Regions from separate parts of the Homo sapiens genome. Here regions 1, 2, 3, 4, 5 and 7 are each linked to region 6. The links are contacts of gene promoters, found by promoter capture Hi-C in blood cells and fetal thymus (Javierre and others, 2016). All regions are on one chromosome and are shown on one strand. Each heading gives the region's core, a stretch centred on a gene start or on the middle of the fragment in contact. The rest is flanking DNA. Distances are from core to core; before and after follow the strand shown. Region 1 holds the start of CFDP1 (craniofacial development protein 1). Region 2 overlaps CFDP1 (craniofacial development protein 1). Region 3 holds the start of ADAT1 (adenosine deaminase tRNA specific 1). Region 4 overlaps CFDP1 (craniofacial development protein 1). Region 5 overlaps KARS1 (lysyl-tRNA synthetase 1). Region 6 holds the start of MLKL (mixed lineage kinase domain like pseudokinase). Region 7 overlaps CHST6 (carbohydrate sulfotransferase 6).

Region 1 (2,700 bases), core at 108-2,607, 730 kb after region 6:
GTGATCCACCCACCTCAGCCTCCCAAAGTGTTGGGATTACAAGCATGAGCCACCGCGCCAGGAATGGAATGGCTAGTTTTCAACGTGCCTTTTAGAAATACTTCACTAGCCGGGGCGCGGTGGCTCATGCCTGTAATCCCAGCACTTTGGGTGGCTGAGGTGGGAGGATCACTTGAGCCCACGAGTTCGAGACCAGCCTGGGCAACATAGCAAGATGCCATTTCTAAAAAAAAAAAAAAAAAAAAAAATTTAAAAAATTAGCGGGCGTGGCAGCCTGCACCTGCAGTCCCAGCTACTCCAGAGGCTGAGACGGGAGGATCGCTTGAGCCCAGGAGTCTGAGGTTGCAGTGAGCCAAGATCGCATCACTGCACTCCAGCCTAGACAACAGCAAGACCCTGTCTTTAAATAAAACAGAACAGAACAAAGTAAAACAAAGAGAATAGGGACGACTCCTGGGTTGTGTTTTGTTAGTCTGTTTGTTTCTTGTTTGTCTAGTCTTTCAACTGAAGATGTGAATGGGTGAAGATACTTTCAACGAGACGGTTTGTCTGGGGAAGACCAAGAAGGGGGAACAGAAAGATTTCTTCAGTAAGATTCATTCTCACCCCGTTCGGGTTGAGATCCCTAAGGAAAGAAAGTTCTGAGAGGAGAGGATGGGTGGACGTCACAATGAGGCAAAAAGCATCAAAGGGGGAACTTTCTATCAGAACTTTCTAACAACCAGGCGGAGAGCGGACAGCTCTATCTTGGACGGGGTGGTGGCCAGCAGCTCTCTCGGGCCAGGGCTGAAAAAAACCTCCAAGGCTCGGACTGCCGCCCCGACTTCTGAAGCAGCGGTGTCGTTCGGGGCTGACCGACGAGCGTCCCTAGCGACAAGGGGCCGTGTCCATGTGCCGGTTCCCGCGCTGCAAGAGGGGGCGGCGGCCGGAGCTGCCCAACGGGAGGGGAGCACAGAACCGCCACGCGCACACGCCTCGGGCCGGAGCGGCCGAGGATGAGGGGCCTGAGGGAGCGGACGCTCGAGAACAGGAGCCCCCCTGGACCACCTGGGCCACAGGGCAGACGCCCGCGGGGGCAGAGCGCGCCTCACGTGAGGCGTGGGGCGGGGCAATTCGCTTCTCGCCTCAGGCGGAATCGCTCACCCGACGGCACGTAGTCCTCGTCCTCCTCCGACGTAGAGAAGTCTTCGGAGTCGAATTCCTCCATGTTGCTGCCGCTCGACGCTGGTCAAACTCACAAGACCGCAGCAGCCGCCTCCAACGGCAAAGCTCTAGGGAGAGACCATAGAGCCCCGGCGGCGGCGACGGCAGCTAGGGCGGCCCCCGACAGCGCTTTGCACATGCGCAGAGAGTACTACGTGGTTGCCCTACGACACTTCCGGCCGATGCCTCCGGGCTGGCGTCCCTGAAGCCCTCGCTGGGAGCCCGAACCCGCCCGGACGCGGTGCATGCTGGAACTTGTAGTCTTCGGCGCTGCCTCGCCGCCTTAATATAATAAACCTGCTTAAATAAAATTACATATCTATGGAAATACAGGTGACCTTCATTAATCATTAATTCGTAATGCCAAATTCACTTACTTGCTAAAATGTATTTGTAACCCTAAAATCAATCATCACGGTACTGTCTGGGGTTCTTCCCGGGCATGCGCAGAGGGTGAAAATTTGGAGTTGGCGGAGGTAAGGTTCCCAGCTGAAGTTTGAACTGGGAGAAGCGCCGCCTTCTAGTCGCAGCTCCTGTGCTGTAAACAAAGAGTCCTTTCCGCAGTCTGTTTACTGACACTTTTTTTTCTGCTTTTTGTGGGTGGTTTTGCTTTCTAAAATGGCCCCCAAGCGTAGTGCTTAAGCTCTGCCCAGTGTTCCTAAGCGAAAGAAGACCGTGATGTGCCTTACGGAGAAAGTCCGCGTGTTGGATAAGCTCCAATCAGGCATGAGTTACAGTGCTGTTGGCCATGAGCTCAATGTTAACGAGTCGACAATCCGGTACATCAAGAAAAAGGAAAAGGAAATTCACCGATCTGTCCGTGAGGCCGCTCCGGATAGTGCTGAAGTGACCTCCATCGTGCGTGATGAAGCTATGACAAAGATGGAAAAGATGGAAAAGCGGCTAAATTTGTGGATTCATGAGATGTCAATCGATTAAAAAAAACATAGTGGACAGCATTGTGGTGAGGCTGAAAGCCAAAGATATCTGTGGTCACGTTACCCAGAGTCAAAGAAATGCTAAGCCCTTCTCGGCGAGTGCTGGCCGGCTCGCGCGTTTCAAAAGGCGATACGGGGTGAAAAATGTTAAACTTGCAGGTGAGGCGAGCTCTGCAGATCAGGAGGCTGCGGAAGAATTTTAAAAATACTTGCTAAGTGTTATACAGGAAAAGGGTTATGTGAAAGAGCAGGTTTTCAATGCGGATGAGACTGGCTTATTTTACAAGGATGTTGGCAAACGAACCTATATAATGCAAACGGCCTCCAAAGCCCCTGGCTTTAAATCATGCCAGGATCATGCACCCTTGTTATTGTGCGCCAATGCCAAGAGCGACTAAAGTGCAAACTCCTAATGGTGTAAAGAACCCAAAATCCACAAGCACTTAACGGGAAATACGTGAACCATCTGCCAGTCTATTGGAGGTGGAACAAAAAAGTGTGGATGATGTCTGATTGGTTCCACAACTGCTTCATCCCAGAAGCTGAACACTGTCTCCAG
Region 2 (2,845 bases), core at 111-2,610, 690 kb after region 6:
GGGGCCGGGCCCGGTGGCTCACGCCTGTAATCCTAGCACTTTGGGAAGCCAAGGAGGGCAGATCACGAGGTCAGGAGATCAAGACCATCCTGGCTAACACAGTGAAACCTCGTCTCTACTAAAAATACAAAAGATTAGACGGGCGTGTTGGCACCTGTAGTCCCAGCTACTCAGGAGGCTGAGGCAGAAGAATGACATGAACCCGGGAGGCGGAGCTTGCAGTGAGCCGAGATTGCGCCACTGCACTGCAGCCTGGGTGACAGAGCGAGACTCCACCTCAAAAAAAAAATGTGAAACAAAACTTTACTGCTCATAGCAATGACAGGTATGCTCCAGGAGGGAAGGAAGAGGGGACAATATCTGACTGAAGGGCCACAGAAGCCACTGTAGGAGACTATGCAGAACTCCCCACAGGAGTCAGGTGGGTAGTCAGGGCTATCCATGGTATGGGTCTATGTTCACTTCCCTGTGGCAACAGTCTTAAGCCTCTCTGATTTACTGTAATACTTTACTTCTCACATTTAGGTTAAGAAAAGAATTTTTACTTCTTCCAAAAAGAAAGAATTCTAGCCTTCAGCTAAAAATAACTCAAGTAATATGAAAAATATGAAGGGAGGAAAACCATTAAGTTCCTGACAATGTGTTAAGAAAACTATTTGTAAATCATCTTTGATCTTTTTATGTTCCTCTAAGATCACAGAGGATGGGAGTGAGTGTTCATCGCAAATCTTCATGAAAAGTTCTGCAGAAGGCTGATATTTTCATTTGAAAAGTATTATTTTTAAATGTAAAATTTACACGTTCAGCTTTGTGTTCAATACTATAAACTAGGACTTCTTTTAGGCTGGCAACAAATAAGAAAGCTACAACTAATTTTCTTCGCTTTTTTTTTTTTTTTTTTTTTTTAAGAGACAGGATCTCTCTGTCACCCAGGCTGGAGTGCAGTGGCACAATCACGGCTCACTGCAGCCTCAACCTTCTGGGCTCAAGGGATCCTCCTGCCTCAGCCTCCACAGTAGCTAGGACAGAGGTGCAAGCCACCATGCCCAGCTAATTTTTTTTTTTTTAAGAGACAGGGTCTTACTGTATTGCCCAGGCTGGTCACAAACTCCTGGGTTCAAGCAATCCTCCTGAGAAAGTTATGGCTAATTTTCCTTTGCATCTTCCATTCTGGTAAATATTGCAGCAAAGGCAAAGCAGCATCATAATTCTCTCTCTCAGGCAAGGAGTCTGATCTGCAGCGAAAGTAGGTATTTGCACTGAAAGCTTCTCCAACGTGCCAAGTACATCAGGGAGTGAGACTCAAATACTCACCCTGACCCGGCAGGGAGTGATGGCAGAGCTGAAGGAACATTAGCCTGTGGTTTTTCTTTCTCATTCTGCTTGAAGAAGGATTTGGCCTCTTTAGATGTAGCATCCACTTCCTTAGTTACCCTGTGCCAAGGAAAAAGACATCAAGCTTACAAGAAGAATAAAGAGAAAGAAACAAGCTAGAAAAGGGAATAAAGACAACTAGAAAAAGATCCACTCGGCTTCCAATAAATTCTGGACGCTCAGCATTATGATAAAAGTTTACTATAACTTTCAATAAAGACATTTGCCCAGCCGGGCGTGGTGACTCACGCCTGTACTCCCAGCACTTTGGGAGGCCGAGGCAGGCGGATCACAAGGTCAAGAGATCGAAACTATCCTGGCCAACATGGTGAAATCCCGTCTCTATTAAAAATATAAAAATTAGCTGGGCGTGGTGGCGGGCGCCTGTAGTCCCAGCTACTCGGGAGGCTGAGGCAGCAGAATCACTTGAACCCGGGAGGCAGAGGTTGCAGTGAGCCGAGATCACGCCATTGCACTCCAGCCTGGGCAACAGCACGAGACACCGTCTCAAAAAAATAAAAAAAATAAAAAAACATTTTCCCTCACTAAAATTAACAAATGAAACAACAATGTGTATAAATTTTATCACCCTATAACAACCCAAAGATGAAACAAAATCCCCTAAAACTGGCTAAATTAGCAATAATTTGGGAATGGACGAAAGCAACATGACTGAGAATTTTGTCTAATTTCAAATCTGAAACAATTATCTTCACTAAAACTGAGTCCTAAAGGTTCAAATAAAGGTGTTTATGGTACCTGAGAATTCAGATAAAGAGAGAAGGAGAAATGTTTAATCCCTGCCTAGGCTTTCCAGGTTAACGAAAACACCTGAGGAATGTTGTTTAAATGCAGTCCATCTCCCCTCCATGACTTCTCAGCATGAAACACACTGCAGCAGTCAATACTAAATCTCCATGCTGGTTTACTGATGTGAAGGCTGAAAAAGGCCCTCACACTGCACCCCACATGCAGATTAGCACTCAGCCTTGAAAGCTGAGATGGGGAGATGGAATACTGGGAATATAGGTTATAGAATTGGGAAATAATGCCTAGGTTGGCACTATTTCAAGGAGAAAAACAAGAGTTAAAAAAAAAAATTTGAGGAGACCAGGCACAGTGGCCCATGCCTGTAATCCCAGCACTTTGGGAGGCCAAGGCAGGCGGACCACGAAGTCATGAGTTTGAGACCAGCCTGGCCAACATGGTGAAACCCTGTCTCTACTAAAAATACAAAAAATTAGCCAGGCATAGTGGCAGGCGCCTGTAATCACAGCTACTAGGGAGGCTGAGGCAGGAGAATTGCCTGAACCCAGGAGGTGGAGGTTGCAGTGAGCTCAGACCACGCCACTGCACTTCAGCCTGGGCAACAGAGCGAGACTCTGTCTCAAAAATAAATAAATAAATTGAGAAGACTCTGCAGAAGGCTCCTGTTTTATATCCAAAACAACCCAAAGATGAAACAAAAACT
Region 3 (2,782 bases), core at 149-2,648, 920 kb after region 6:
AGCTAAGCACTGTAAAACCAAACTGAAGGCCGGGCGCGGTGGCTCACCTGAGGTCAGGAGTTCGAGGCCAGCCTGGCCAACGTGGTGAAACCCTGTCTCTACTGAAAATACAAAAAAATTAGCCGGGCGTGATGGCGCGTGCCTGTAGTCCCAGCTACTCGGGAGGCTGAGGCAGGAGAATCGCTTGAACCCGGGAGGCGGAGGTCGCAATGAGCCGAGATTGTGCCACTGCACTCCAGGCTGGGTGACAGAGCGAGACTCCCTCTCAAAAAAACAAAAAAGGCTTTCCTGAGCTCCAGTGCATGCAGCTTTTGAAAGATGGTATTGTTATGAATCCCCTGCAGCGCAACGTGCAGGCTCGCTACTGTAGTGAATGCTACTGGTAAATCAGACCACAGTGATTTAAAACAAAAATCTGCAGGAAGTGAGACCCTGTGACTTGAAAGTCAGAGGGCCAGGGCAAGCCTTGTCAAGAAAAGAAAGCATGAGATCCTAGAATCCTCGTTTGGAAGGGACTCACCTCTCATTTCTAGGGAGGCATCACAAGGCAGTATAGTTTATGAAGACCACCTGGCCATCGACCTGAAATTAAACCAGAGGTGCAATTCACAAACCTCGATAGGCAAGGCAGGTAGAAGTTGCCAGAAGAAACAGTGACTCTCTTTAAGATGAAGCAGCCCAGAACGGCATCATCTCACTCAGGTAGTGCGTCTGAATGAGCATGCACAATTGTTTAAATGAATAAATGTTTTGCTACACTGGGTCCATTATAATTCGAGCCTACACCCCCTCCTAGATCTTGAAAACTTGAAGAACTTCTTAGCTGAAAATAACAGCTCAGCTAAACAGGCATTTATTTGCCCACAAGACCGCATCTCTGAACAGTTTCAACAAGCTAAAAAAACTGACGTCCTTTCCAAAGAAAAGGAAGTCGGCTGCCAGGGGAGAAAAGGCTTCAGCGATGCTTGGAGGAAGGGACTCTGGTTTACGCTGGCTCCCTTCCTAAACACTTCCGGAAGCAGAGCCCCTTCCCGGCCGCTGGAGAAGCCTGGGTGGGACCCCGAGTCGGCCAGTTACAGGATAGGAGGTGCCAGGCAAGGCACTGAAGCCATGCAGTGAGAACAGCGTGAGCGCCTGATCCATTGGGTCCTGCGGCTGCCAGGCCAGAGGCCCCGCGCCAGGAGCTCTTCAGGCGCCGGCTGCTGACAGTTCCAGGCGTGGAGCGCCTTCCCACGTGAAACGCGTCCCGGAAGATACGATCCTCACAACCTCTTCCCTCAAAAACAGACTCGGCAAAGTTAGCCCGGATAAACCTGCCCCGTCGCCCCAGCGCCTCGCGGACGCTCCCCTCCCACCTTCAGGAAACGCGCCTAGAAGAAAGCGAGCTTAATCCGCCGGTAAGGCGGACGTGACGTCACAAAGCGCCGGTTCCTTTCGGCTCCCGCTCCCAGAGGCGCGCAGTGCATGCCGGGCCCTGTAGTTTTTCCGGGGAGTCGGTGCCAGGGCCGAGATTCCCGCGCTTCAAGTCCCGCAGCCCTGGCTGCGTCTTAGAGAGGCGTGAAACCGGATGATGGGAGCCGCTTGTTGGCTTAGATATTCCTTCAACTAGAATGACGTATCTTGCAGCACTCGGCTGAATTTTTTTCTTTTTCTTTTTTTTTTTTGAGACGGAGTCTTGCTCTGTTGCTCAGGCTGGAGTGTAGAGGCGCGATCTCGGCTCACTGCAACCTTCGCCTCCCGGTTCAAGCGATTCTCCTGACTATGCTGTATTTCTATCTGTAACATCACTGTCCAATAGATATATAATTCGAACCATATACGTAATTTAAAAATTTCCAGTAGCCTCATTAAAAGTCAAAATAGAAACAATCATATATATTTTATTTAACCCATACATCCCAAATAGTATTATTTCAACATATAATCAAAAAATTTTTTGAGATGGAGTCTCGCTTTGTCGCCCAGGCTGGAAGCGGCGCAATTTCGGCGCACTGCAACCTCCGTCTCCTGGCTTCAAGCGATTCTCCTGCCTCAGCCTCCCAAGTAGCTGGGATTACAGGCGCCCGCCATCACACCCGGCTCATTTTTGTTATTTTTAGTAGAGACGGGGTTTCGCCATGTTACCAGGCTGGTCTCGAACTCCTGACCTCAAGTGATCCGCCCGCCTCAACCTCCCAGAGTGCTGGGATTACAGGCGTGAGTCACGATGCCCGGGGTCGGTCTGTCTGTCTCATATATATATATATATATATTTTTTTTTTTTTTTTTTTTTTTTTTGAGACGGAGTCTCGCTCTGTCACCCAGGCTGGAGTGCAGTGGCGCAATCTCTGCTCACTGCAAGCTCCGCCTCCCAGGTTCACGCCATTCTCCTGCCTCAGCCTCGCGAGTAGCTGGGACTACAGGTGCCTGCCACCACGTCAGGCTAATTTTTGTATTTTTAGTAGATACGGGGTTTCACCATGTTAGCCAGGATGGTCTCGATCTCCTGACCTCGTGATCTGCCCGCCTCGGCCTCCCAAAGTGCTGGATTACAGGCGTGAGCCACCGCACCTGGCTGCCGAGTCTCAATATTTTAAAAAATACTTATGTTCTGTTCTGTTTTTAATGCGAAGTTTAAGAAATCTGGTGTGTGTTACACTTAGAATACATCCCAATTTGGATCAGCCACATTTCAGATGCTGGATAGTCACATGTGGCTACTGGCTACTGTAGTACAGTACTACTACAGTGTAGTGGGCAGAACAGGTCTAAAAACCTTTGGATTGCCGGGAATAAGTAATAT
Region 4 (2,700 bases), core at 183-2,682, 710 kb after region 6:
TCTATTTAGAAGAGCCTCAACTTTATTTGCACTATTTCTTCCAAGAGTTCTCAAGGAAAAAGAAAAAAATCCATGTTTCTTCCCACTTTCGGAAGAACTGAGAGCTGGAACATAGAAAAATTCAAGGACAGGCCAGGCGCAGTGGCTCACACCTGTAATCCCAGCACTCTGGGAGGCCAAGGCCCACACAGAGATTCCACTACCTTTTTTCTCTTTTACTTCATATAAACTTTCATCACAACAAGATGAGAAAATTAGCCGGGCATGTTGGTGGGTGCCTATAATCCAGCCACTCGGAGGCTGAGGCAGGGAACTGAACCCAGGAGGCGGAGGTTGCATTGAGCAGAGATCACGCCACTGCACTCCAGCCTAGGCAACAGGGCGAGACTCTGTCTCAAAAAAAAAAAAAAAAAAAAAAAATTCAAGGACAAAAAAACTGGGCCCAAGACTTATAAGAGTATATTGCTTCTTAGACTATTTTGACTTTAGGTGAATCAATCTAATATCTACATTCTTTTTTCTTTTTCATAAATGATAATCTGCTTTTTGCTTCAATGCCCAGGAAGACAGAAACACCCAAGTGAGGTAAAAGACTTCTATGGAAGATGCCCTTATCTAAGTTAAATAACCTGTCAGAATTTTCATAATTTTCATGGGAAAAGAAGCCCATACCAGGCCTATGCCAGGCAATGGGCTAATATCTGTATTTTTAAAATTTAATTGCATATATAACCTTAGATCAAACAATTCCACTTCTAAATGTTACATTTACAGATATATTTATACATGTATACATTATATACATTTATATATTTATGTATACTTTGTATACATGTATACAAAGAATATTCACTGCACTCTTCTTTGTTGTAGTAAAGACTAGATACAATCTAAACATCCCTCGATACAGGAAAGCCTAAATAAAGTAAGGCCTATTCACATAACGTAATACTATGAAAAGGAGGAGATACTGCCATGGTACTATCTCCAAGATGTGAAATAAAGAGAAATGAAAATGAGAAAGTGAGTATGCTACTATTTATATTTTTTTTCTAAAAAAAAAATGAAGAAAATATAGACATATATGCATTTGCATGCACAGACTATCTCTGGTAGCATAGTTCTTCAGAGGCAAAGCAACAAGGTCTAGGAACAGGGTAAACATCTTTTCAGGGACTGAATTTTCTGTTCTAACCATATGTACATATTACCTATTAACATTTTCTTTACATTAAAGCTCAAAATGTTTAAAGCTTTCCAGAGACCAAGAAGTTAATCCTAAAATAACAGCAAATGTTTCCCTCAAAGAGAAAAGGGTTAGAAACTCTGGCTTCATTAAATCTATCATGAGACCAATCTTAGCAATCAGGATGGTTGTGACAATAGCCCCTAACTTCTAAGGGCCTTGAAGGCAGCATCACCTGGCTGGAATGCTCTGGGCCTTTCTTTTTTTCCCTTGGGTTTTCTGTGTCTGCTCTTCACCATCCACTTCATCTTCCTTCACTAATTCATTTACATCATCTTCACTATACTCTCCACCTGAAATCACATAACAGGGTGATCAGACAGGAATAAAGGTTTTCACATCAAGATGAGACATTTTCATTAATACAAGCTTTCACACCGAGACATTTTCATTAAGAAAAAGTGAATTTTCCCCTACTCTTCACCTAACGAAAACATCATTTCCTTGGGGAAGTCTTCTCTGCCCCTGAAGACTACCCTACGTTCTTCTATCGTAGGCTTCCATGGCAGTCTCTATTTCCCCTCCAAAACTCATCCCACTTATATTTAATGTTGGTAATTTCTGCTGTGCTGTATACTCCAAGAGGACATAAACCCTGTTCATTGTGACTTTTAAGTATTCACTAAATGAATGAGTGAATGAACAGAAATTTCAATTCTACTAATGTGTTTCTCAAAGAAGAAACTGATGCACTACCTCATCTTGGGTATCTTTCAAATCTAATTTAAAAAACACTTTGTCTTCTCAATAAAAGAAGTTTAAAAGGAAACCTAAAGACTTCCAGTTAAACATAGCAGAAAGAACAAACACACCCATGTCCCATTGTCAGACACTGACATTCAAGGGTCCCCAACAAAAGAGTGTTGCTTGGATGTCTGACCACATGCTGTGGGTACCAGTCAATAAACCAACCCTGCCCACACAGAGATTCCACTACCTTTTTCCTCTTTTACTTCATATAAACTTTCAATTGAAGTGTACATACCAAAAAGCACACAAATCTAATATACAGTTCAATGGAATGACACACAGTGAACACACTTGCATAACCAGGGCCCCAGCTCGAGGAACTGAACATTAGCAGCATCCCAGAAGGCCCCCTGTGCTCCCTTCCAGTCACTAACAACTGCCCTACCCCTAAAGGGAACCAATATCCTGACTTCTAAAGTCACGGGTTAGTTTTGCCTGCTTTTCAACTTTCAACAGAAGCCTGCAGTGTGTACTCTTCTGTGTCTGGCTTCTTTTATTCAACATTATGTTTGTGAGAGTCACCCACATTGTTGCAGTGTAGCTGTAGTTTATTCATTCTCACTCCTGAACAGTAAATAGTGTGTCATTGTATGACTATACCATAATCCGTTTATTCATTCTACTGCTGATGCACAACTAGGTTGTTTCCAATTTGGAGTCATTACAAACAGTACTGTTGTGATACTCCTGTGCATCCAATCAGC
Region 5 (2,700 bases), core at 201-2,700, 940 kb after region 6:
TGGAGTGCAGTCACAATCTCAGCTTACTGCAATCTCTGCCTCCCGGGTTTCAAGAGATTCTCGTGCCTCAGCCTCCTGAGTAGCTGGGATTACAGGTGTGTACCACCACAGTCAACTAATTTATGTATTTTTAGTGAGACGAGGTTTCACCACGTTGGCCAGACTGGTCTCAAACTCCTTTCCTCAAGTGATCTGCCCACCTTGGCCTCCCAAAGTGCTAGGATTACAGGTGTGAGCCACCTGACCCCTCCAATGCCAGATCTAATACATGATAAGGCAACATCTCCAGCCCTCTGCTACCCCCTCTCTCTATCCCTCCCCTAAGAGTGAGTTAGGATGATAGTAAGGAAGAGCCGGCTCTTTAGCACTCAAGGAGACCTCCCCTACCAACAGTCTCTCCAAGAATGGCTGTCAGCATTAGTCTCACTTTGCCCACTGGAGCCTGACTTAGACAACAAAATAGAACGGTGTGCAAAGCAGTATAGTACAGGGGGTAATATACCATCTTTGTAGTCAGGCTGCCTGGGACTAAATTCCAACACACTTGTCAATTATGTGACTTGGACGAGTGAATTAACTTCTCACCTGTGAAACGAAAATAATAATAGACAACCCCCACCAGTTGTTATGGTGTGTAATGAGATAATGTTTGTATAAAGGGATTACCCTGACCCTGGCATTCAGCTAACCAAATGTGAGCTTTCTAGGTATCTTTTAGTATCTTAACCCTTTACTCTCTGTGCCTCATATAGATTTAAATACATTTCTGGTTAAATCACTTGGTATCCAAACTCTTGATACTTATCACTTGAACCTGAAAAACCAAAGTAATGCGGACAACTCTGAGCTGTTCTGTATGATATGTTCATGTCTCTTATAGTCTGAATTTGCTATCTGAAACCAGAAACTAAACAGATTGGTGTAGGGAGGGATATCTTTACTATTCAAAGACAATTTATGGATCATTCTTTCAAACCGCTGAACATAATCAAATATTCTGCAATAGTGAACCACAGCAGAAGATCCCAAGTCATGCCCGCAAACATTCTGGCTTCAGGACACATCCTTCATTTTCGATATGAATTTAGAATAACTTTAAAAAATGAATTGAGGTTTTGAATCTTTCACCTTTTTTTTTTTTTTTTGAGACAGAGTCTCGCTGTGTTGCCCAGGCTGGAGTGCAGTGGTGCGATCTCAGATCACTGTAAGCTCTGCCTCCCGGGTTCACACCATTTTCCTGCCTCAGCCTCCGGAGTAGCTGGGACTACAGGTGCCCGCCACCATGCCCGGCTAATTTTTTTGGTATTTTTAGTGAAGATGGGGTTTCACCGTGTTAGCCAGGATGGTCTTGATCTCCTGACCTCGTGATCTGCCTGTCTTGGCCTCCCAAAGTGCTGGGATTACAGGCGTGAGCCACCACGCCTGGCCGAATCTTTCATCTTGTAAAAAAGAAAAACAGATTCTGAATGGTTTCAAAGTTGACAGCTTTTTCTACATATAATGTCTTATAACATTTGTAAAGACAACCTTTCCAAAACACTGTGCTGGTGTTATCATGCTATAATTCAGTCAGTGGACTGCTAAGATTAGGCTGTCTAGTTCTTCTAGAATTAAGATAAATCTGTTTTCCACTCAACCAGGTGCTCCTCTTAAATCAAATCAATCTTAAGGATAATCCAAAAAGGTCCTAGGGATAGCACTAAGACTAGAAACCAAATTAATCTCAAGAGCACACAAAACTCCAGAAAGACAGAAAAGGGAAATAGCTGGCATTAGAAATTATTTGTTCAAACAAAGGTTTTGTTCTTAGCACTCTTCTAGAATAAGATCCACATGTCATCTCAAGACTCTAAGGAGAGACGATTTGAATTTATTAAAGAGAAAATGAGAAAGGACTATTGGTTTTGGTATTAGGGCTCCTTGTTTCCTTAGCAACAAGTCCAAAGACTTAGCCAGAGGCTTAACGGAAAATGAACCAAGTAAGGAAATAATTTTTGCTTCCAGAGCAATAAAGAAGGTAATGGGCACCAACCTTCTTTGATCAGAAAATGACTTGTCCTTGTGAGGCGCTGTGAAAGGAGCAAGTTGACCCAGTCGCAGTTCCCTGTGACCCCACTCTGCCCAGGAGGTTTTGCGCAGGGACCCCCTAACAAGCCTTACAGCAGCTTGCGTCAACATGGCAGAGCACCCTGGAACTAATGATTACCACCACCTAGCGGGAAACACAGAGATGTGGTGTCAGATGGGACAGACAGTATACATATACCCAACCAACTCTCTTATGGGTTGGGGAGGGGGACCATGCTTCTACTACCTTTTAGTCCCATTTAACTTAAGACTGTCTTAACTGATAGCAACCCTGTAACACTCTCTGTGCTACAACTGTAACTGACAATGTTCTTAGTCCTGACTATGGAAAAAACATGCATATCTGGGGTAAAGCCAACAGCAAGTTAATGGATAGCTTACAGGTAAAATTGCTCACAACATCCTAGAATATGGGAACAGGATGTGAGGCACTTTCTGAAGCCCTGAAGTGTGGTTTCTCACCTGGAGAGGAAATACCTGGCCACAAGATGGCAATAGGAAGCATATAAAATAAGAGGAAACTGTCACTATCAATTGCAAACTCTAGACAAAGATAAATGCAAGCCACACAAAAATACGTGTCAAAGAGAAGACTTGTTTGGAACTCTAGGA
Region 6 (2,700 bases), core at 177-2,676:
AGCACCCTACAATAACTTAAATTGTTTAAGGTCTTATTAAGTATATGATCTACAAGGGAAGAAAGGGAATATACATATATACACACTTAGACTGGGCAATTTGAATTTCTAGGAACTTATGATGTAGAAAAGCTTGTGTTTGTAGATAGATGGCTACCGAGATGTTCACTGCAGTGCTATTTATAATATGTAAAACAAACAGCTAAGAATATGTTCAGGCCAGCTGCAGTGGCTCACACCTGTAATCCCAGCACTTTGGGAGGGTGAGGTAGGAGGATCACCTGAGCCCAGGAGTTTGAGACCAGCCTGGGTGACAAAGCGAGACCCTGGCTCTACCAAAAAATACAAAAAAAATTTAATTGGGTGTGGTGATGTGCACCTTGTAGTCCTAGCTACTTGGGAGGATCTGGTTGGAGGATCACTTGAGCCCATGAGTTCGGAGGCTGCAGTGAGCTATGATTGTGCCACTGCGCTCCAGCCTGGGCAACAGAGGAAGACTCCATCTCTCAAAATAAATAAATAAAAAGAAAAAGGGGATTATGTTCATATGTTACGATGAGAAAACAGGTTACTAATTTTAAAAGTGAAAAATCTTTAAATGGTAATAACAATGCAAATTCACCTCTTCCCTCCAAAAAATAAAAAATAAAAATAAAATAAAATAAGTAAAGGTTATCAGGCATTTCCCTCTTCTCTCTCTCTCACTCTGTCTCTCTCTCACGCCTTCAGCCTGCAAACCTGAAGACTTCCTTTTTCTGAGAAGACATCAGGTAACTTGTTCCCGTGCCCCTGCCCTCCACGACCCCCACTGCTACTGGGCGTCTCGCTTTGGCGGAAGGTAGTGCGAGATCCGAGCAGGCAGCTCCACCATCAGAGCTGAGGAAATGAAACCAACTCGGTCCTGAGTTCCAGGAACTCGGACCGGGCCACCCTCACCCCTGGTTCTTCCCATCACCGTCCAGGAATTCGGCTGCAGCCCCTCGGCCCCGCCGCCTCCTGGGAAGACCCCATGCTCACCTTCGCGCCTCCCGAGGGGTGTGCGTCCAATCTGTCCCGTGCACAGTTCCAAAAAGCTCGCTCTTCCACCTTCTTTCCCACGACCGCCTCCTGCCCAGGCGAGAAGTTTGCAAACGCGAGGCCCGCGGGAGTTCCCCTGCGCCCCCTTTCCTGGTGCCCGCACCCTGCACTCTGCTGACTGTACCGGACGCCACACGTGGCTGGCGGCGACAAGGCGCCCCGATCCCTACCTGAGGGAAACCCCGGCCACTGCAGCTGCACTTGAGCAGGGTCCCTCCACTCAGCCACTTGGATGGCTGTTTCTGTCCAGTGCCCTCCGGAGGCCACTGCCTCAGGTCTGTGATGCCTGCAGAGAATGCTGCGACACTTCCCCCTCCGACGTGGCTCCAGCTGCCAACCACCAGGCTCACGGTGCCCTGGCTCCCTGGAGCCGCTTTCTAGGCAGCTCGGAGCCACGGCCCCTCCCTTCCTTCCTCCTGTCCTTTCCACACTCTTCCTGCCTTCCCCAAAGTCACTGGGTAACTACGCTGTACACGTCAGTACCAAGCCTTCTTTAGGGGCTGGGGATTCAGAATAGAATAAGGTCCCAGCAACTATTATAACCAGGACACAGTATGAGAAGGACTGGAAGTTTAGAGAAAAACTGAAAGTTGGAGAGAAGCTTCTGGTGTTTGCTTCTCTGTGCTGGATAATATTGGCGGGGTGGGGAGGGTACGAGGGAAGAGACACCAAAGTGGGAAAAAAGTCACTTCCTCTTCTAAGGTCATTGCAGAACATCCTGTTACAGTGTGAGTCAGGTTTTCTTAAGATTAACTACATCTTCAGCTAGAAAGTCTAAGTAGTGTTATGCATTTACTCAACAGACTATTTGCCTCTAAAAGAACAGAACTGGGAGCTGGGTGTGGTGGCTCATGCCTGTAATTCCAGCACTTTGGGAGGCGGAGGTGGCCAGATCACCTGAGGTCAGGAGTTCAAGACCATCCTGGCCAACATGGGGAAACCCTGTCTCTACTAAAAATACAAAAATTAGCCAGGCGTGGTGGTGCATGCCTGTAATCCCAGCTACTCGGGAGCCTGAGAGGGGAGAATCGCTTGAAGCCGGCCTTGGAGATTCATTTCTTCGCCTTGCTATTGTTCTTCGTCTCCTGCATCATCAGTTTTCTTCCTGTCTTAGGTGAAGAGATTGAGGTGAGGCAGGAGAATAGGGTCTGCAGGCAGGGAACATAAAGCTGATTCACGCTGACTTCTTAGAACTAAATAAAATGGACACATTTCAGCTATGACAGGAAATATTTTCTTCATTTACATATGGCGTTCACTGAGTAAGTGACTGAGCAACTTCACTTCATCTTCTTCATTTACATAGGGTGTACACCAATTAACCAATGGGAGCCTCTAGAGGGTATTTAAATCCCAGAAAATTCTGTAACGGAGTTCTTGAGCCCCTATGCTCACGCTGGCTCCCACCCTGTGGAGTGTACCTTTGTTTTCAATACATCTCTGCTTTTGTTGCCTCATTCTTTCCTTGCTTTGTGCATTTTGCCCATTTCTTTGTTCAAGATGCCAAGAACCTGGACACCTTCAACAAGTAACACAGGTGCCTGTGATTTATTGAAGGAAGACTCTTAGGAGAGTGGTGGGTATGATAGGGCAGAGGAAGAAAAAGTGAAACAAGTATGTAGT
Region 7 (2,874 bases), core at 78-2,577, 770 kb after region 6:
AATATATCTTCTTGATGCAAAATAACAAAAATAAGGCCCACCATTGATTCCCCAACAGCCTCTTGATAGGTGGGTTCTCTGACCTATTCCAGGCAACACTGTTTCTATGCACCCATCAGCCCATCTAGTGCTTTGATTGCCCCTTCTGAGCTCCCACAGCCAGAGCAGAGGCAGCAAGCGTGCCTGCCCCTAATTGTGGGTGACTGCTGGGCCTAGACACTTCTAGCTGCATCACAGGGCCTACAGGTAAGGGGAGACACTAATTACAGCCCTACCAGCAGGGAGGGAGCCTGGACCCTGGTGGAAATTGGAAGCTGCAGGTGCCAGGAGCCCTCCGTTCTCAAGTGTATCGGTTAGGCAATGCTACGTAACAAACCACCACAACACTCAAATGACTGAAACACAATAAGCACTTTTATTGCTCCTAAAGTCTTCGACTTGGCCGCAGTGCTGGGCTCAGCTGGCCTCGCTCATATGTCTTTATAGCTACTCTTCTCAAGTGGTGGACTCAGTTTCCCCACCTCTGAATCTGGGTGAGCCCTGGGACTCCCTTTGGCCAGTAGAAGGTAGCCGAAGTGGCTGCGTGCGGATCAGCTGGAGCTGGCTGGTCTAGGATGGCCTGGTTTGGGACCCCTGAACTCTCCTTCTCATGGTCTCTGCTTGTCCAGCAGGCTGGCCTGGGCTTTCTCCCGGGCAGAGGCGGAGGTCCGAAGCAAAGGAGCAGCACGCAGGTTCTCTTCAGGTGGAGGAAAGCAGAGGCGTCAGCTCAGACTATGCCTTTTTCACATAAAAAATGATTTTCAGCTGAAGGCAATTAAGAAGCAGAAAGTGCAGGAAAAGTTCAGGTTTCCCTCCCCTTTTCTGCCTAAAGGCACGATATAAACTCTCCATCACTGGACACAACCCTTGACTCAGAGGTGGTACCAGAGGCTGCTGCAGACAAATCCTGTTGCATCAGCTTCCTCTCGGATATTTACCATCCCATAGTTTACCACCTTTGGAAGCCTAAAACTGTTGTCCTTGGTCATCCTATCTCTACAAATTTATTGTATTTTTTAAAAATGCTGTGTAAGACAGTGTTCCAAGCCATCACTTTGTTACTTTTCATTGAGGCTTATCCTGAGTGATGTTGGCTGCCTGTGTTAACAAACTGTTTTTCGCCAGGTACAGTGGCTCATGCCTGTAATCCTAGCACATTGGGAGGCCAAGGCAGGTGGATCACCTGAGGTCAGGAGTTCCAGCCCAGCCTGATCGACATGGTGAAACCCCATCTCTACTAAAAATACAAAAAAAATTAGCCGGGCGTGGTGGTGTACATCTGTAATCCCAGCTACTCGGGAGGCTGAGGCAGGAGAATCGCTTGAAACTGGGAGGCGGAGGTTGCAGTGAGCCAAGATGGCGCCACTGCACTCCAGCCTGGGGGACAAGAGCAAGACTCTGCCTCAAAAAAACAGAAACAAAAACATTGTTTTTCTTTGTGAATCTGTCTTTTCATTAAAAAGTCTCTCTTAATCTGTTTTGTTTTGCTATAACAATACCACAGATGGGGTCATTTATTTAGAGATAGGTGTCTTGCTCTGTCACTCAGGCTGGAGTGCACTGGCATGATCATGGTTCAATGTAGCCTCAACCTCCCAGGGTCAAGCAGTCCTCCCAACTCAGCCTCCCAAGTAGCTAGGACTACAGGTGCACGACACCATGCCCTGCTAATTTTTTTTTAACTTTGTAGAGATGGGGTCTCACTATGTTGCCCAGGCTGGTCTTGAGTGCCTGGTCTCAAGTGATCCTCCTGCCTCAGCCTTGCAAAGTATTGGGATTACAGGCGTGAGCCACTGAACCCAGCAAGGGTCATATATAATAAATAGAAGTGTATTGGCTTACAGTTCTGGAGGCTGGGAAGCCCAAGATCAAGGAGCCAGCATCTAGCGAGAGCCTTCTTGCTGTGTCCTAGCATGATGGAAGGCATCATATGGCAGAAGGGCAAAGTGAGGGCGAGAGAAAGACAAAGAATGAACTCCTTCATTTAAAAGGCACCACTCTCAGGATAACCAACTCACTCCTGAAATAATGGTGGTTTTTTTTAAGACAGACTCTCGCTTTGTTGCCCAGGCTGGAGTACAGTGGTGCGATCTCAGCTCACTGCAATCTCTGCCTCCTGGGTTCAAGCGATTCTCCTGTCTCAGCCTCCCAAGTAGCTGGCCTTACAGGCATGTGCCACCACACCTGGCTAATTTTTGTATTTTAACTAGAAATGGTGTTTTACCTTGTTGGCCAGGCTGGTCTCAAACTCCTGACCTCAAGTAATCCGCACACCTCAACCTCCCAAAATGCTGGGATTACAGACATGAGCTACCATGCCTGCGCCCAGAAATAATGTTCTCTACCCATTCACAAGGGCATAACCCGCACGGCGTAATTTACTTTCCATCAAGCCTCACCTCACAACACTGGGGATCAAGGTTCCAACTTTGGGAGACACAATCAAATCACAGCAGAGCCCCAGCTGAAAACCTAAGACAGGTGGAGGTAAAGTTTTGCTTCCAAGGCCTATGCTTCAAACTGGCTCACAGGAAGTTGCACTACACTTGTCTACAGGACAAAGCAAGTCACAGGACCAGCCTGGATTCAGAGGTGGAGAAACAGACTCTACTTCTTGATGGCAGGAGCCATGGTCACACAGCACAGAGTGTCAACACAGCAAACCACTAACAGTGGTCAATGCAGTCACCCCCACAGCAACCCAGAGCTCTGTGCCCTGTCACAGCATTGGGCAGTCCCCAGTGATTAAACCTTCCTGTTGGGACTGCACTCTCACAGAGATATAAGACATACGTGATCAGCACAAGTATGTACCTACCCAGCCCTGGCTTTACT

What was found. The method cuts DNA at HindIII sites, captures the fragments that hold promoters and counts their contacts. A CHiCAGO score of 5 or more calls a contact.
Region 1: a contact is called between the fragment with the promoter of CFDP1 here and the fragment with the promoter of MLKL in region 6, in 12 of 17 cell types (fetal thymus, activated CD4 T cells, non-activated CD4 T cells and 9 more). The highest score is 13.3, in fetal thymus.
Region 2: a fragment that was not itself captured here is called in contact with the fragment with the promoter of MLKL in region 6 in 1 of 17 cell types (fetal thymus); the score reaches 6.9 in fetal thymus.
Region 3: a contact is called between the fragment with the promoter of ADAT1 here and the fragment with the promoter of MLKL in region 6, in 1 of 17 cell types (naive CD8 T cells). The highest score is 5.4, in naive CD8 T cells.
Region 4: a contact is called between a fragment that was not itself captured here and the fragment with the promoter of MLKL in region 6, in 1 of 17 cell types (total CD8 T cells). The highest score is 5.5, in total CD8 T cells.
Region 5: a contact is called between a fragment that was not itself captured here and the fragment with the promoter of MLKL in region 6, in 1 of 17 cell types (monocytes). The highest score is 8.8, in monocytes.
Region 7: a contact is called between a fragment that was not itself captured here and the fragment with the promoter of MLKL in region 6, in 2 of 17 cell types (neutrophils and total CD4 T cells). The highest score is 5.7, in neutrophils.

What each region holds. Positions count from the first base shown.
Region 1 is chr16:75,432,146-75,434,845 of GRCh38, forward strand. It overlaps CFDP1 (craniofacial development protein 1), which reads right to left and starts at 1,358. Exons shown (of 7, transcript NM_006324.3): 1 at 1,144-1,358. The coding sequence starts at 1,207. RefSeq lists a silencer at 794-1,033 and enhancers at 1,344-1,853, 1,397-1,964. The HindIII fragment of the contact is 10,360 bases long and covers 1-2,700 here.
Region 2 is chr16:75,393,776-75,396,620 of GRCh38, forward strand. CFDP1 (craniofacial development protein 1) reads right to left here. Exons shown (of 7, transcript NM_006324.3): 5 at 1,315-1,434. Among named protein-coding and RNA genes, the nearest start is that of CFDP1, 38 kb to the right of the region's middle. The HindIII fragment of the contact is 193 bases long and covers 1,265-1,457 here.
Region 3 is chr16:75,621,883-75,624,664 of GRCh38, forward strand. ADAT1 (adenosine deaminase tRNA specific 1) reads right to left here and starts at 1,399. Exons shown (of 10, transcript NM_001324445.2): 1 at 521-1,399. RefSeq lists enhancers at 1-152, 153-672, 673-1,192, 1,074-1,313, 1,193-1,712. The HindIII fragment of the contact is 8,287 bases long and covers 1-2,782 here.
Region 4 is chr16:75,413,157-75,415,856 of GRCh38, forward strand. It overlaps CFDP1 (craniofacial development protein 1), which reads right to left. Exons shown (of 7, transcript NM_006324.3): 2 at 1,422-1,539. Among named protein-coding and RNA genes, the nearest start is that of CFDP1, 19 kb to the right of the region's middle. The HindIII fragment of the contact is 362 bases long and covers 1,252-1,613 here.
Region 5 is chr16:75,642,251-75,644,950 of GRCh38, forward strand. All of the region lies in intron 1 of KARS1 (lysyl-tRNA synthetase 1), which reads right to left. Among named protein-coding and RNA genes, the nearest start is that of KARS1, 4.1 kb to the right of the region's middle. The HindIII fragment of the contact is 3,555 bases long and covers 1-2,700 here.
Region 6 is chr16:74,699,436-74,702,135 of GRCh38, forward strand. MLKL (mixed lineage kinase domain like pseudokinase) reads right to left here and starts at 1,427. Exons shown (of 11, transcript NM_152649.4): 1 at 1,018-1,427. RefSeq lists an enhancer at 881-1,330. The HindIII fragment of the contact is 1,546 bases long and covers 131-1,676 here.
Region 7 is chr16:75,472,732-75,475,605 of GRCh38, forward strand. It overlaps CHST6 (carbohydrate sulfotransferase 6), which reads right to left. Exons shown (of 3, transcript NM_021615.5): 3 at 1-2,874. Among named protein-coding and RNA genes, the nearest start is that of TMEM170A, 9.5 kb to the left of the region's middle. The HindIII fragment of the contact is 3,555 bases long and covers 1-2,874 here.